5 separate regions of the Homo sapiens genome follow, and all the other regions are linked to region 1. Evidence: promoter capture Hi-C in human tissues and cell types (Jung and others, 2019). All regions are on one chromosome and are shown on one strand. The core of a region is centred on a gene start or on the middle of the fragment in contact, and the rest is flanking DNA. Distances in the headings are between cores, read along the strand shown.

Region 1 (2,908 bases), core at 157-2,656:
CACGGTGCACCTGGAGACCCTGCCCCGGGCCCCGCTCCACCACAGAGAGGGCAGACCAAGGCACTGGCAACGCCGGCAGAGCGGACTGCGGGTCAGGAGCTCCGGGGCCGCCAGGACTGGAGCAACTCAGAGGCACAGGTCTGCACTATGGGGAGGCGGCCTGAGGCTGCTCAACCAGGCCTGTACCACTGCAGGGGGCCGCAGGCTGATCACTACGATTCAGCTTCTGGAAGTGGGAGAAGTTTCAATCTCTAAGTGAAGTTAGCGGGTGAAAACCCCCAGGAACTAGGACACAAAGGAACCCTCCAAATAAGCCTGCAGCAAGAAAGTCAGTCACCAACATCCGCTGTCCTCCGAGGTGCCCTGAAGTCCAGCCCTTGATTCCCATCCTAACCTGATGGTTAAAATTACCGAGGAAGGCCATGAGCAGCGGCTCACGCCTGTCATCCCAGCGCTTTGGGAGGCCGAGGTGGGCGAATCACCTGAGGCCAGAATTCAAGACCAGCCTGAACAACATGGTGAGTGCTCACACCCTGAGGGCCTTGGGTCAGGGGTTTACTCAAGCTGAGCAGCACGGCCTGGCCTGTGGCTTCACAGACCTCGCCGTGCAAATGCTAACGTCTTCCAACAAGAAGTGCAAATCTGCTAGTCTCGTTAGAATCAAGTAACTCTCAAATACGCTTCCCTTGTTACGTGGAAACTGCTAGCAACCACCCAACAAACCCATCTACCCATCTGGCCACGCCTTGGCCTGTGCCACGTGGAGGCGGCAAGCGCAGAAGGATCCCGCACGCTCGGCGGTAACTGAAGACCACGGCCAGCCCCAGACCCTGACCCCTGTAACCTATGAGCGCCACCTCCGCACCGCTTTCCGCACCTGACCCGCTCCTGACAGCTGCAGAGGTGCAAACGGGTGACGGAAAGAGTCCGATCCTCCCGGCACGCGACACGGCTCCGGCCGGGGGTGCTCCGGGGGCGCAGTCTCGCCCGGGAAGTGGCTGCCGACAGCGGCGAGGAGCGGCAAGGGCCAGGGCTCCCGCTTCCCCGGCCCGTCCCGCCCGCCCGCCCGCGCCGCCCCGCCCCGCCGCACTCACGCGAGTGCTCCAGCTCGCGCGCCGCCTTGGCGGCGCGCTCCAGGCCGGTGGGGTCGAAGTTGCTCCATTTGTCCTTGGGCGCCGGCCGGTCTCCCAACCCGCGGTCCCCGCCGCCCTCGGCCCCGGGCTGCGCGGGCGGCAAAGGCGGCGGCGGCCCCGCGCCTTCACCCTTGGGGCCCTTGTTAATGCCGAAGAGCCACGACATGCTCGCACCGCCGCCGCCGCTACCGCCGCCGGGACCCCCACCCGAGTCTGACTCGCGCGCGGCTGGGAGCAGCCTCCACGCGCCGCGAGCCGGTGGTCACCGCCACTGCGCAGGCGCCACACACACCCCTTCCTCCCGGCGATAGAAGCGCGTAAGGGACACGCGCGCAGCCCTTGGATTGGCCCCGAGGACAGTGACGCCATAGCGACGGCGCCGCGACTGCCGAACAGGCTTTGGGAGCCAGCGGGGCGGGAGCGGCGAAGCATCTGGCTACGGGAGCCACGCCGGGACAAAATTCCCGAGGGACGTAGGCGAACCCAAGGCAGCGTCAGCCCCGCGCCGCATCCGCGTGGGCTCCGTTGCTAGGGGCTCCGTTGCTAGGGGCTCCGAGGAGTTCCGGCCTTGGCGGCAGCGGGTGGCAAGTTTCCAGGGAGCCCCAAGGTTCTCGATCCGTGCGGCGGGGCGCCCTGCGGTGAGTCCAGGACGCAGAGAAGAGTCTCGCGGGAACCTCACCCGAGGCGGCACCGGCGCCCGGGCAAGCCGAGCCCTTCCGCGATGAGTCGGCGCCCTGGGGTCGCTGCGCCAAGAGCTCAGGAGAGGCGCCTCCCCTCCTCGGTGTCTCCGCAGCCCGCACGGCCCTCCCGCCCAAGACCCCGGGGCGACCCCTTCCCGCGTGGCGGGGCCAGCGAGCTCCTCTTGCGGGGCGTGGACGGGGCCGGGGTGCCCGGGCAGGCGCCGCCCCGGAGCCCACGGTCCACGCGCTCCCAGCGGCCCTGACTTTCTCCTTGATGGAACTGGTTGACTTCACGGAATATATGGAGTGACTTTTCCCACTGGATTGGAAACTGTTTTAAGCCTGAATAATGTTAGATACAATGAGTTCTAAACTTCCCTTCAAAGAATCAGTATATCAGTATGTTCAGTCTTTGTCCTGCATTTTAAAGTCTACCTTCCTCGCAGTTTCAGTAAACAACCTTTTCCACCAGTTCTAGTCAGTAGTTGACATCTGTTGCCCTGGTCACCTGCTCCGTCCTAACTAATCCCGGTCTCCTGCTTTGACCTGAGTCACCTTTAGTTACCTGTCCCATAACCATTTTTCCCGCCAAACCACTCACCCCGCCACTCTGGCCCATACTCCTGCTCCCTTTAAAATAGCCAATGGGCACTAGTTTAGACTGTGCATTCTAACCCTAGCCAATAGGGGAACCACACAGCAGTAGGGGCTACCCGCGTCAGGAATAAGAACCCCTTCCCCTCCCTTGTCCAAGCGCTCGCCATTGCTCCATCTATGAGATGTCCCCTTCTATAGAAGTAAATTATCTAGCTGAGAAAAATTTATATTCGAGTTCTACTTCTTTGGCGGCACAGAAAATTTACATATAACACAGTGAGCTGCCGAGATCTCGTCACTGCACTCCAGTCTGGGCGACTGAGTCAGACTCTGTCAAAAAAAAAAAAAAAAGCCAGAAAATGCCGGCCAGGCGCGGTGGCTCACACCCGTAATCCCAGCACTTTGGGAGGCCGAGGTGGGCAGATCACCTGAAAACAGGAGTTTGAGACCAGCCGGGCCAACATGGTGAAACCCCTGTCAAAAATACAAAAATTAACC
Region 2 (2,908 bases), core at 194-2,693, 400 kb after region 1:
GGGAAAATAAGAGTGGTCAAAGAGTGTATAGCACAATTTAAATTCTCACTAAATTTTTCATTGCCTTGTAGAAATTTTCATCCCATTATTTAGCTTTTTGGCTCCAATGAGATTTTCAAAATAGAAAATGCATGTGTTTAGTTACTAAGGCATAATTTACATGCAGTGAAACACACAGAGCTTGTGTCCAGTTCAATTGTTTTGACAAAGGATTCACCAGACTCCTGTCGTGATGTAGAATCTGCCTGTGATCCATGGAGATTGCCTCGCAGGCTGCTCCAGCGCCCGCCTGCCGCGCCAGACAGGAGCGCTGCTGTGATTTTACCGACACTCTGAGTGTTAGGAGTCACACGTGCGGGCGGTTTTGCGTCTGCCACGGCTCACGCAGAGAACTGTTGTTGAGCTTCCTCTGAGGTGCTGCACAAGGAGTGGGTGTGGGATGCGCTGTTGCGTGCTCGTCGTCTCTGAGGGCGCCCGGGTGGGTTTCCGCTGTCTGAAGAGTTGGGCCTATTTTTGTGCACGTGTTTGGCGGGCGTGTGTTGTTTCTCTTGGGAACGTGCCCGGGGGGAAGGCTGCATCCCAGGTGTGGAAGTCCCAGCGGTTCTGTGTGTCCCCACAGCCGAGAGGCTGAGTGCCGTTTGGTCGTGGAGGCTTTAGTTTGCATTTCCCTGACGCTCACCCGTGTTGAGCACTGTCCACTCATCTGTTGCCATTCGCACACGTTTTCTGAGTGTCCGAGGATGTCTTTTGCCCATTTTTTTGATGACCAGATTGTGAAAGTCCTTTATATATTCCATATTCAGGGCTTTTGTCTGGTACGTGTACTGTGACTATCTCCCATTCTTTGATTTGCCTATTAATTTTATTACTGATGTTGTAAACTAAGAATAAAATCCTAAGTCCCCCGCCGACTGAACGAGCTCCCTCTTGGTCAAGGGGACCCCAGAGAAACCTTAAAAATTGAGTTTCCGGCCATAAAAGGATGGGAGGTTGGACACACCTGGTTATACTGCCACCCTTTTTCAGTTTAGACACAACTGACCAACATTAGTGTTAAAGTGGAGATCACGAGACTGACAGACTCTGCGGCAATAAGACGCCGAGTTATAATCAGGACCTAAGGCCGTGCCAGGCCGGGGTTAAGTCACACACCCTTACAGTTAAAGAATAAGGCTTGGGTTTTCTTTTCCTCTAGCAGTTAAGCAGGCACTGGCCTGAGACAAGCGGTATGGAAACAGTGATGGCTCGCTGCCAGGCACTAACTGACCCCCCATTTCACGGCCATAACTACAGCGTCACTTTCCATAACTTCCTCCTGATAAGACACCACTGGCCACGGACTGGTTCTGCTGGTCTATGGAGGATGTGACTGGAGTGACTCCCGGGCCGCGCCTCACCTTTGGCCATATAGGGCCTAATTGTCTTACATGTAAATGTGAAATCTCACCTCTCAGTGAACATGGGTCCTGCGTTACATGCATGTTTATCTAGTACACATGCATTAAGACAGGAGAGAGGAGCGCTTGAGCCCAGGAGTTCAAGACCAGCCTGCGAAACACAGCAAGACACCCTTTTTACCAAAAAATAAAAATAAAATTAGCCAGATATGGTGGCAGGCATGTAGTCCTAGCTACTTGGGAGGCTGAGGCGGGAGAGTTGCTTGAGCCCAGGAGTTCAAGATGGCGGTGAGCTATGATTGCACCACTGCACTCCAGCCTGGGCAACAGAGCAAACCCATCTCTAAAAGAAAGAAAGAAATTTTAAAAAGGAGGAAAGGAAAGAAAGGAGAAAAGAGGAAAGGAAAAAGGAAAGGAAACTGTTCCCATTAAACACTAACTCCCCATTCCTCCCTGCCCCCCAGCCCCTGGCAACCACCGTTGTCTTTTCTGTCTCTATGAATTCGACAACCCTGGGAACCTCATGAGTAGAATCATACAGTATTTGTCCTGTTGTGATGAGCTGCTTTCACTTAGCATAGTGTTTTCAAGGTTCATTCCTGTTGTAGCATGCGTCCAAAATTTCTTTTCAGGACTGTAGAATATTCCACGGTCTGTATAGACCACCTTTTGTTTATCCATTCATCTGTGGGTGGACACTTGCTCCCACCTTTTGGCTGTGGTGAACAATGCTGCTGCAGACATGGTGGCTGTGGTGAACGGTGCCGAGACATGGTGGCTGTGGTGAACGGTGCTGCCGAGACATGGTGGCTGTGGTGGACGGTGCTGCTGAGACATGGTGGCCGTGGTGGATGGTGCTGAGACATGGTGGCTGTGGTGAACGGTGCTGCCGAGACATGGTGGCTGTGGTGGACGGTGCTGCCGAGACATGGTGGCTGTGGTGGACGGTGCTGCTGAGACATGGTGGCCGTGGTGGATGGTGCCGAGACATGGTGGCTGTGGTGAACAATGCTGCTGCAGACATGGTGGCTGTGGTGAACGGTGCCGAGACATGGTGGCTGTGGTGAACGGTGCTGCCGAGACATGGTGGCTGTGGTGGACGGTGCTGCTGAGACATGGTGGCCGTGGTGGATGGTGCTGAGACATGGTGGCTGTGGTGAACGGTGCTGCCGAGACATGGTGGCTGTGGTGGACGGTGCTGCTGAGACATGGTGGCTGTGGTGAACGGTGCCGAGACATGGTGGCTGTGGTGGACGGTGCCGAGACATGGTGGCTGTGGTGAATGGTGCCGAGACATGGTGGCTGTGGTGGACGGTGCTGCCGAGACATGGTGGCTGTGGTGGACGGTGCTGCTGAGACATGGTGGCTGTGGTGAACGGTGTCGAGACATGGTGGCTGTGGTGGACGGTGCTGCTGAGACATGGTGGCTGTGGTGAACGGTGCCGAGACATGGTGGCTGTGGTGAACAGTGCCAAGACATGGTGGCTGTGGTGGACGGTGCTGCTGAGACA
Region 3 (2,908 bases), core at 239-2,738, 390 kb before region 1:
CTACTAAAAATAAAAATTATGCGCATGTGGTGGTGCACACCTGTAATCCCAACTATTCGGGAGGCTGGGACAGGAGAATTGCTTGAACCTGGGAGGCGGAGGTTGCAGTGAGCTAGTATCATGTCACTGCACTCCAACCTGGGCAACAAAGCAAGACTCTGTCTCAAAAAAATCAAAAAAAGTTACCATATTACCCAGCAACTCTGGTCCTAGGTATATGTCCCAAAGAATTTAAAACAGATGTTCAAACAAAAGAATGTGTGTGGCCAAGCACAGTGGCTCACGCCTGCAATCCCAGCATTTTGGGACGCTGAGGGGGGGCAGATCACCTGAGGTCAGGAGTTCAAGACCAGCCTGGCCAACATGGTGAAACCCCATCTCTACTAAAAGTGCAAAAATTAGCCAGGCATGGTGGGCACGCCTGTATTCCCAACTACTCAGGAGGCTGAGGCAGGAGAATCGCTTGAACCCGGAAGGCGGAGGTTGCAGTGAGCCAATATCACACCACTGCACTCCAGCCTGGGCGATGGAGTGAGACTCTGTCTTGGGAAAAAAAGGAATGTGTATAACAGCATTGTTTATAATAGCTAAAGGACCACCCTGGGCAATAGGATGGGACCCCATCTCTACAAAAAAAATTTGTTTTAATTAGCCAGGCATGGTGGCAGGCACCTCTATTCCCAGCTACTTGGGAGGCCAAGGCAGGAGGATCACTTGAGCCAAGGAGGTTGAGGCTGCAGCAAGCCATGATTGCATCACTGCACTCCAACCCCACCACAGAGCGAGACCCTGTCTCTAATTATTTATTTATTTTATATTATTTATTTATTTATTTATTTATTTTGAGACCGGGTTTCATTCTTGTTGCCCAGGCTGGAGTGTAATGGCGCGGTCTCAGCTCACTGCAACTTCTGCCTCCTAGGTTCAAGTGATTCTGTTGTGTCAGCCTCCTAAGTAGCTGGGATTATAGGTGTGTGCCACCATGCGTGGCTAATTTTTTGTGTTTGTAGCTCTGTCGTCAGGCTGCAGTGCAGTGGCGCAGTCTCAGCTCACTGTAACCTCCGCCTCCCAGGTTTGAGTGATTCTCCTGCCTCAGCCTCCCGAGTAGCTGGGATTACAGGCGCGTGCCACCATGCCCGGCTAATATTTGTATTTTCAGTAGAGGCAGGGTTCTGCCATGTTGGCCAGGCTGGTCTTGAATTCCTGACTTCAGGGGATCTGTCCGCCTCGGCCTCCCAAAGTGCTGGGATTACAGGCGTGAGTCACCGCACCTGGCCCCCATTTTTGTATTTTTAGTAGAGGCAGGGTTTCGCCATGTTGGCCAGGCTGGTCTCAAACTCCTGACCTCAGGTGATCCACCCGCCTCGGCCTCCCAAAGTGCTGGGATTACAACTATTGAGCCCCTGTGCTTGGCCTCTGTCTCTATTTAAGAAAAAAAAAAAAAAAAGCCGGTCAGGCACAGTGGCTCACACCTGTAATCCCAGCACTTTGGGAGGCTGAGGCAGGCAGATCACAAGGTCAGGAGATCAAGACCATCCTGGCTAACACGGTGAAACCCTGTCTCTACTAAGAAATACAAAAAAATTAGCCAGGCATGATGGCGGGCGCCTGTAGTCCCAGCTACTCAGGAGGCTGAGGCAGGAGAATGGCGTGAACCCGGGAGGCGAAGCTTGCAGTGAACCAAGATCGCGCCACTGCACTCCAGGCTGGGCGACAGCGCGAGACTCTGGCTCAAAAAAAAAAAAAAAAAAAAAGCCAAAAGGTGGAAACAACCCAAATATCCATTCATGAATGTATGGGTAAAATGTGGTATATCCATAAAGTGGAATATTATTCAGCCGTAAAGAGGAAGGAAGTACGGAGACATGCTGTGATGCAGATGAACCTGGAGACCTATGCTTGGTGGAAGAAGCCAGACATGAAGGGTCACAGGCTGTGTGTTCCACTGGCAGGAGGCATCTACGACAGCCAGATTCACAAAAGAAGGTGGAACCGAGGTTACCAGGACCAGGGGGGTGGAGGAGGGTGGTGTGGCTGTTTAATGGGCATGGGGTTTTCTTGGAGGCAGTGAAGTGTTCTGATGCAGGGGTGCTGACGGCTACGCAGCACTGGGAATGTGCTAAATGCCACACATTGTACACTCGAAAATGGTTACAGCACACCCGGTGCAGTGGCGTGCACCTGTAGTCGGAGCTGCTAGGGAGGCCCAGGAGTTTGAGTCCAGCATGGGCAACGTAGTGAGATCCCCCATACCAAGAAAAGAAAAAAAATAGGCCGAGCATGGTGGCTCACGCCTGTAATCCCAGCACTTTGGGAGGCCAAGGCGGGCGGATCACAAGGTCAAGAGATTGAGACCATCCTGGCCAACATGGTGAAACCCCATCTCTATTAAAAGCATAAAAATTAGCTGGGTATGGTGGCAGGCGCCTGTAGTCCCAGCTACTTGGGAGGCTGAGGCAGAAGAATCGCTTGAACCCGGGAGGCAGAGGTTGCAGTGAGCCGAGATCACGCCATTGCACTCCAGCCTGGGCGACAGAGCAAGACGCCATCTCAAAAAAATAAAAATTTAAAAATAAATAAATAAAAATAAAAAATAGTTAAAATGATAAATTTTATGTGTATTTTATCACTTTTTTTTTTTTTTGAGACAGAGTCTCGCTCTGTCGCCCAAGCTAGAGTGCAGTGGCGTGATCTCAGCTCACTGCAAGCTCCGTCTCCCGGGTTCACGCCATTCTCCTGCCTCAGCCTCCCAAGCAGCTGGGACTACAGGTGCCCGCCACCATGCCCGGCTAATTTTTTTGTATTTTTAGTAGAGACAGGGTTTCACCGTGTTAGGCAGGATGGTCTCGATCTCCTGACCTTGTGATCTGGCCGCCTCGGCCTTCCAAAGTGCTGGGATTACAGGCGT
Region 4 (2,908 bases), core at 226-2,725, 380 kb after region 1:
ACCACACAAAGATCCACCTTCACAGGACAGCAGAGATGGAGACAAAAAGAAGGCCCCAAAAACTTTCAGGAAAAAACCCGCAGAAACAGGTTCCATACCAAGGCCCCGGGGTTGGGATGCCATTGCCGGACCCACAGCAGCCTCGGGAGCCGGGGACCCTGCGGCGAGGTTTTCTCAACTCGCAGGGAAGCGAAGGCCTTGGTGGGGGCCCGCCCTGTGCCCTTCACAGGCAGCTGCAGCTGTGGGCGTGGTGGGGGCCCACCCCCTGCACCTCACGGGGAGCTGCGAGGGGCTTGTTCCACCAAAACACTGAGAAGACAAGAAAGGGGAGGTGTGGGGCCCGGGAAAATCCCACCCAGGGGAGAAGCAATGGGACCTTTGTGACACGGACCACGAAGCCTGCAAGACGCCAGCCCTGCCCCAGGCCCGAGGGAGCCGACCAGCCCCGGGCAGGGCAGGAGGCTCCCGGAGGCCCCTCAGAAATACCTGGCGTGCCGGAATTTAAGTCATGGGGGAGAGTCTGAGGCTGAATTAGTAATGAGTTCAGAGAAAGCTAAGCAAGAAGAAAAGCAAAGGCGATTATTAACTTCAGGGAAACAGCTCAGAGTTCGGGTGAGAACAGGCGGCCACGGTGGACCTGGCACCAAGCTAGTCCCCGGCGCCCAGCAGAGTGACAGCAGAGACCAGGCGCGGCGCGTGACGGCGGGACGAGAGGTGGGAGGGCGGCAAACAGCCCCTTCCACAGGGCAGATTCAGGGCTGACCCTGAAGCTGGAGTGCTGAGAAGCTGCCGTTTGCCAGTGACGTTGGAAGTAAACACAGGAGCCTCCCAGCACACGGAGCTGGTGGCCTCGGCGCGGCCTGAAGATCATATGTGTCCAAGCCTTGCAGAAGTGTTTGACTCTCAAGCAACCTACAGGCATAACTGGTTTTTTTTTTTTTTTTTTTTTTTTTTTTTTGAGACAGAGTCTCACTCTGTTGCCCAGGCTGGAGGGCAATGGTGCCATCTGAGCTCACTGCAACCTCCGCCTTCCAGGTGCAAGCGATTGTCCTGCCTCAGCCTCCAGAGTAGCTGGAATTATAGGTGCCCGCCACCACATCCAGCTAATTTTTTTGTATTTTTAGTAGAGACAGGGTTTCATCATGCTGACCACGCTTGTCTCGAACTCCTGACCTCAAGTGATCCGCCCGCCTTGACCTCCCAAATGCGAACCACTGTGTCCGGCCACAAGCATAACTTTGATAGAAAAGGCAATAACAAATTAAGTTGGTGCGAGCTTTACCCTCTGAGTCCTCGGAATCATTTTTAAAACATAAAGGTTTCCAGAACTCACAGCTGTGAACTTAACTGTTCTCAAGGGGGTATCTTTGATTGATTTTCCTAACTCTTCTACGATAATCGGCCTTTTCCCCTCTTCTGCTTCCTCTCGTTCTGGCAGCCGATGCTCACATCCATAACAGTGTCTGTTTCCCTGGATTTTCCCATCCCAGGGCCACGCAGAGTGCAGCTCCCCTACACGGCCACGGCATTCTGTCCCTCTGTCGCGTGGCCATGCGTGGCTCAGTGCCGTGGGAGCCTCTCCGTGTCTGAGGCCGAGGGCAGGCTGGTGCCCCATTCGCTCTGTGCCTCACAGGCGGCCCTGATGCTCTGTGCTCCAAATCTCTGCAGGACTGGATTTCGGCCGGGACAGAGGAGGCTGTGCCCCCACCCACGTTGTTCCCAATGCCCACGCACCTTGTCAACTGGAATAAATTTGGTTTCCCTGCAAGAGCTCTCTGCCAGGAAATGTAAATCATGGCTTCTCAGTCTCTCTCCCCCTCTGAGGGCCCCCTGGCTGGGTCATTCACAGGCCCCGAGGAACTCTGGGGCCTTCGCAGCCATCTTTTCCTACAGGAACCCCCAGACACCCATAATCATCACGGGGACCCAAGACCCCAGCTTCTCCCGGGGGGCACATGGTCACCCTGTGGCCCCCTCCAGGCATCTCCGCTCAGGCTGTGGGACCCCAGGCCCGGCCCACCTGGCCAGCACAGCCCTGCAGGCCCCAGCTGACCCTCACCACCCCCCAGCCAATAGCAGAAGCCGCCAGCCCTGGGGAAGGCCCTCCGGCTGAATCCCTCCTCTTCTGAGGCCTTGCCCTCCCCGCGGGCTCCGCCTGCCACAACTGTGCCCTGGGCTCACCAGCGGGACCCCCAGGTCCTCCCCAGCACACCATGGAGGCCCCTAAGGGCTGGGCCTTGGCCAGGCGACTGGGGAGGGGCTGGTCCCGGAAGAAAAGCTTTGTGGGGCCGTGGGTGCGGGGGCTTTCGGCTCATCAGAAGCCACCAGCCCTTGAGACAAAACCTCCCAGACGCTGTGGGTCAGACCCACAGAGCCTCAGTCCTACCTGGTCCTGGGAGGGCGGAGGGCGGTGTGGGCCTGGTCCCAGGACGGCGGAGGGCAGTGTGGGCCAGGCGCGGACTCCCCCGGGCGCCCTCATGGTCTTATCTCTGCCCGGCCGGCGGAAGGCGGCGGGAACCTTTGCCTGGTACAACCACTACTGCTCCACAGCCCAGGAATTTGGCATTGAATAATTTTTAACTTCTGCTCTGAGAGAGGAGCTGGCCTTGGATTTAGTGTCCGTGCATGCAGGAATGCCGGGGCTCCATTTTCAAGTAAGTGCCTCGCGGAAAGCCGGCCTCGGAAAAGCAGAGAGAAAAGAGCAAGAAAAGTCAGAGGGGCAGGTCTGGCTGGCATCCAGCGGTGGCCAAGCCCGCAGCCCAGGTCTGACCTCACAGATGGACAGCTCCCCATGTGGGAGAAGCCGCGGGCATCTGGGGGGGGCACCAACTCCCTGGGGTCTAAAGCAGGGTTTGCGCTTCCTGGCAGGGGGGAAAGGCTGCACCTCACACCTCTCTGGGTGCAGAGC
Region 5 (2,908 bases), core at 279-2,778, 370 kb before region 1:
CTGGCTTGACCATATGGCAGGCCATGTTATTTTGAAACCCCTATTTAGTGTAAGTCTCACAAGACATGGAACAAAAATTTTTATAAAATTTTAAACTGGTTTGACCGGGCGTGGTGGCTCACACCTGTAATCCCAGCACTTTGGGAGGCCGAGTCAGGCGGATCATGAGGTCAGGAGATCGAGACCACCCTGGCTAACACGGTGAAACCCCTTCTCTACTAAAATTACTTCTCTACAAAAAATTAGCTGGGCGTGGTGCTGGGCACCTGTAATCCCAGCTACTCAGGAGGCTGAGGCAGGAGAATGGCAGGAACCCGGGAGGGGGAGCTTGCAGTGAGCCAAGATCGGCCACTGCACTCCAGCCTGGGCGACACAGCGAGACTCCGTCTCAAAAAATAAAAATAAAAAAAATTTTAAACTGGTTTACATTCTGATTTCAGGTTTGCATTTGTTAAGAGTGGTTGGAGAGATTATGAAGTAGGCAATTCAGTTAAGTGTTTGGTTTAGGAACACAGAATGAGGAGATAAAATAAATTTAAAATGGAAACTATCAGAAATTTATGAAACTGCAGTGTTCAACATTACTGAAAGAAAAAGCAGGGCCAACGTATATGGGAGTGAGTGTGTATGAAGAGAGAGAAATGCAACATCACATCAGCTGCTCTGGGAGAGGGACAGAGCACCACCTATTTCAAAGCTATGCATTTTGTTCTAGAACTTTGATTGAAGAAATAGAGACAATCTATAGACATTTGAGTTTGCTAGTGGATTAGTGGAATGCTGAAAGCTTTTTTTGTGAGACAGAGTCCCACTCAGCCACCCAGTCTGGAGTGCAGTGGCGCAATCTCGGCTCACTGCAACCACCATCTCACGGGTTCAAGTGATTCTCCAGTCTCAGCCTCCCGAGTAGCTGGGATTACAGGCACCCGCCGTCATGCCCGGATAATTTTTTAAAATTTTATTTTAGTAGAGATGGGGTTTCACCATGTTGGCCAGGCTGGTCTTGAACTCCTGACCTCCGGTGATCTGCCTGTCTGAGCCTCCCAAAGTTCTAGGATTACAGGCGTGAGCCACCGTGCCCTGCCGGAATGCTGAAAGCTTTTTTAAACCTTTTAGCCTCTTGTTCTTGTGTCAGTGCCTACCATTGGGTGCCATGGTAATCAGTGGAAATTACTCCTGGCTTTCAGTGGTAGAAAAGCTTTCTGTTTTATAGAGCAATGTTGCTTGCTTGCTTTTTTTTTTTTTTAAGATTAAGTGGGCCGGGCACGGTGGCTCACGCCTGTAATCCCAGCACTTTGGGAGGCCGACGTGGGCGGATCACGAGGTCAGGAGATTGAGACCATCCTGGCTAACACGGTGAAACCCCATTGCTACTAAAAATACCAAAAAAATTAGCTGGGTGTGGTGGCGGGCGCCTGTAGTCCCAGCTACTTGGGAGGCTGAGGCAGGAGAATGGCGTGAACCCGGGAGGCGGAGCTTGCAGTGAGCCGAGATCGTGCTACTGCACTCCAGCCTGGGTGACTGAGCGAGACTCCGTTTCACAAAAAAAAAAAAAAAAAAAAAGATTAAGTGGAAGTATTTCCTTATTTATGTCTTCTTAAATTAGAATTCTGAGAAAGACCCATTTTTTAAAAGCTTACTGATTTAAAAGACCAGATTAAGATTATCTAAGGTAATTCCTTTTTTCTTTCTTTTTTTTTTGAGATGGAGTTTCCTTCCTGTTGCCCAGGCTGGAGTGCAATGGCGCTGTCCTGGCTCACTGCAACTTCTGCCTCCCGGGTTCAAGTGATTCTCCTGCCTCAGCCTCCCAAGTAGCTGAGATTACAGGTGCCCGCCACCATGCCTGGCTAATTTTTGTAGTTTTAGTAGAGATGGGGTTTCACCATGTTGGCCAGGCTGGTCTCAAACTGCTGACCTCAAGTGATCCGCCCGCCTCCGCCTCCCAAAGTGCTGGGATTACAGGTGTGAGCCACCGTGCCCAGCTTAATTTTTAAGTTTATTCTGTTGAACCTATTTTGCCATAGATAAAATATTTTTATGATTTAATAATTCATTGCTCCAAACTTACTAATGCATTATATCAAGAGAGGACTTTATGTATTAATTCATTCACCTGTTAGAATTGGAATACTGGCCGGGCACGGTGGCTCATGCCTGTAATCCCAGCACTTTGGGAGGCCCAGGCGGGCAGATCACGATGTCAGGAGATCGAGACCAACCTGGCTAACACAGTGAAACCCTGTCTCTGCTAAAAATACAAAAAAATTAGCCGGGCGTGGTGGCAGGCACCTGTAGTCCCAGCTACTTGGGAGGCTGAGGCAGGAGAATGGTGTGAACCCGGGAGGCAGACCTCGCAGTGAGTGGAGATCGCGCCACTGCACTCCAGCCTGGGCGACAGAGCAAGACTCCGTCTCTCAAAAAAAAAAAAAGAATGGGAATACTAAGGGCATCAGTGGAATGTATTCTTGTTTACTGGTGGGTAATCATGTCTCCATGCATGTCTGTGTGCAGTCCTGTAGCACTTAGAAAATATATTCCCTATGTTGATTACAGACACTCAACTTCTGCCGAGTGTTGTAGTTAATAAAGCTTAAAAAATTCTGGGCTGGGTGTGGTGGCTCATGCCTGTAAACCCAACACTTTGGGAGGCCAAGGTGAGCGGATCACCTGAGGTTGGGAGTTCAAGACCAGCCTGACCAACATGGAGAAACCCTGTCTCTACTGAAAATACAAAATTAGCCCAGACGCGGTGGCTCACGCCTGTAATTCCAGCACTTTGGGAGGCCGAGGAGGGTGGATCAGCCTGGCCAACATGGAGAAACCCCATCTCTACTAAAAATACAAAAAATTACCCAGGCATGGTGATGCATGCCTGTAATTCCAGCTACTCGGGAGGCTGAGGTTGCAG

Evidence for each region. The method cuts DNA at HindIII sites, captures the fragments that hold promoters and counts their contacts. A contact is called where the count stands out against the background at its distance.
Region 2: a contact is called between a fragment that was not itself captured here and the fragment with the promoter of ATAD3A in region 1, in 2 of the 25 tissues and cell types used here (aorta and dorsolateral prefrontal cortex).
Region 3: a fragment that was not itself captured here is called in contact with the fragment with the promoter of ATAD3A in region 1 in 1 of the 25 tissues and cell types used here (spleen).
Region 4: a fragment that was not itself captured here is called in contact with the fragment with the promoter of ATAD3A in region 1 in 1 of the 25 tissues and cell types used here (lymphoblastoid cells).
Region 5: a fragment that was not itself captured here is called in contact with the fragment with the promoter of ATAD3A in region 1 in 5 of the 25 tissues and cell types used here (aorta, dorsolateral prefrontal cortex, lymphoblastoid cells and 2 more).

Annotation. Positions count from the first base shown.
Region 1 is chr1:1,510,660-1,513,567 of GRCh38, reverse strand. ATAD3A (ATPase family AAA domain containing 3A) reads right to left here and starts at 1,406. Exons shown (of 16, transcript NM_001170535.3): 1 at 1,095-1,406. The coding sequence starts at 1,299. RefSeq lists silencers at 1,289-1,448, 1,899-2,098 and an enhancer at 1,599-1,658. The HindIII fragment of the contact is 15,639 bases long and covers 1-2,908 here.
Region 2 is chr1:1,108,320-1,111,227 of GRCh38, reverse strand. All of the region lies in intron 1 of C1orf159 (chromosome 1 open reading frame 159), which reads left to right. Among named protein-coding and RNA genes, the nearest start is that of C1orf159, 6.3 kb to the left of the region's middle. The HindIII fragment of the contact is 6,974 bases long and covers 1-2,908 here.
Region 3 is chr1:1,902,360-1,905,267 of GRCh38, reverse strand. No RefSeq gene overlaps it. Among named protein-coding and RNA genes, the nearest start is that of CALML6, 11 kb to the left of the region's middle. The HindIII fragment of the contact is 7,236 bases long and covers 1-2,908 here.
Region 4 is chr1:1,128,237-1,131,144 of GRCh38, reverse strand. LOC124903819 (a long non-coding RNA gene) reads left to right here and starts at 2,161. Exons shown (of 2, transcript XR_007065349.1): 1 at 2,161-2,654. It overlaps LOC124903820 (a long non-coding RNA gene), which reads right to left and starts at 2,461. Exons shown (of 3, transcript XR_007065351.1): 1 at 2,387-2,461. The HindIII fragment of the contact is 3,193 bases long and covers 1-2,908 here.
Region 5 is chr1:1,884,207-1,887,114 of GRCh38, reverse strand. The region is part of intron 1 of GNB1 (G protein subunit beta 1); the gene reads left to right. Among named protein-coding and RNA genes, the nearest start is that of GNB1, 5.4 kb to the left of the region's middle. The HindIII fragment of the contact is 4,669 bases long and covers 1-2,908 here.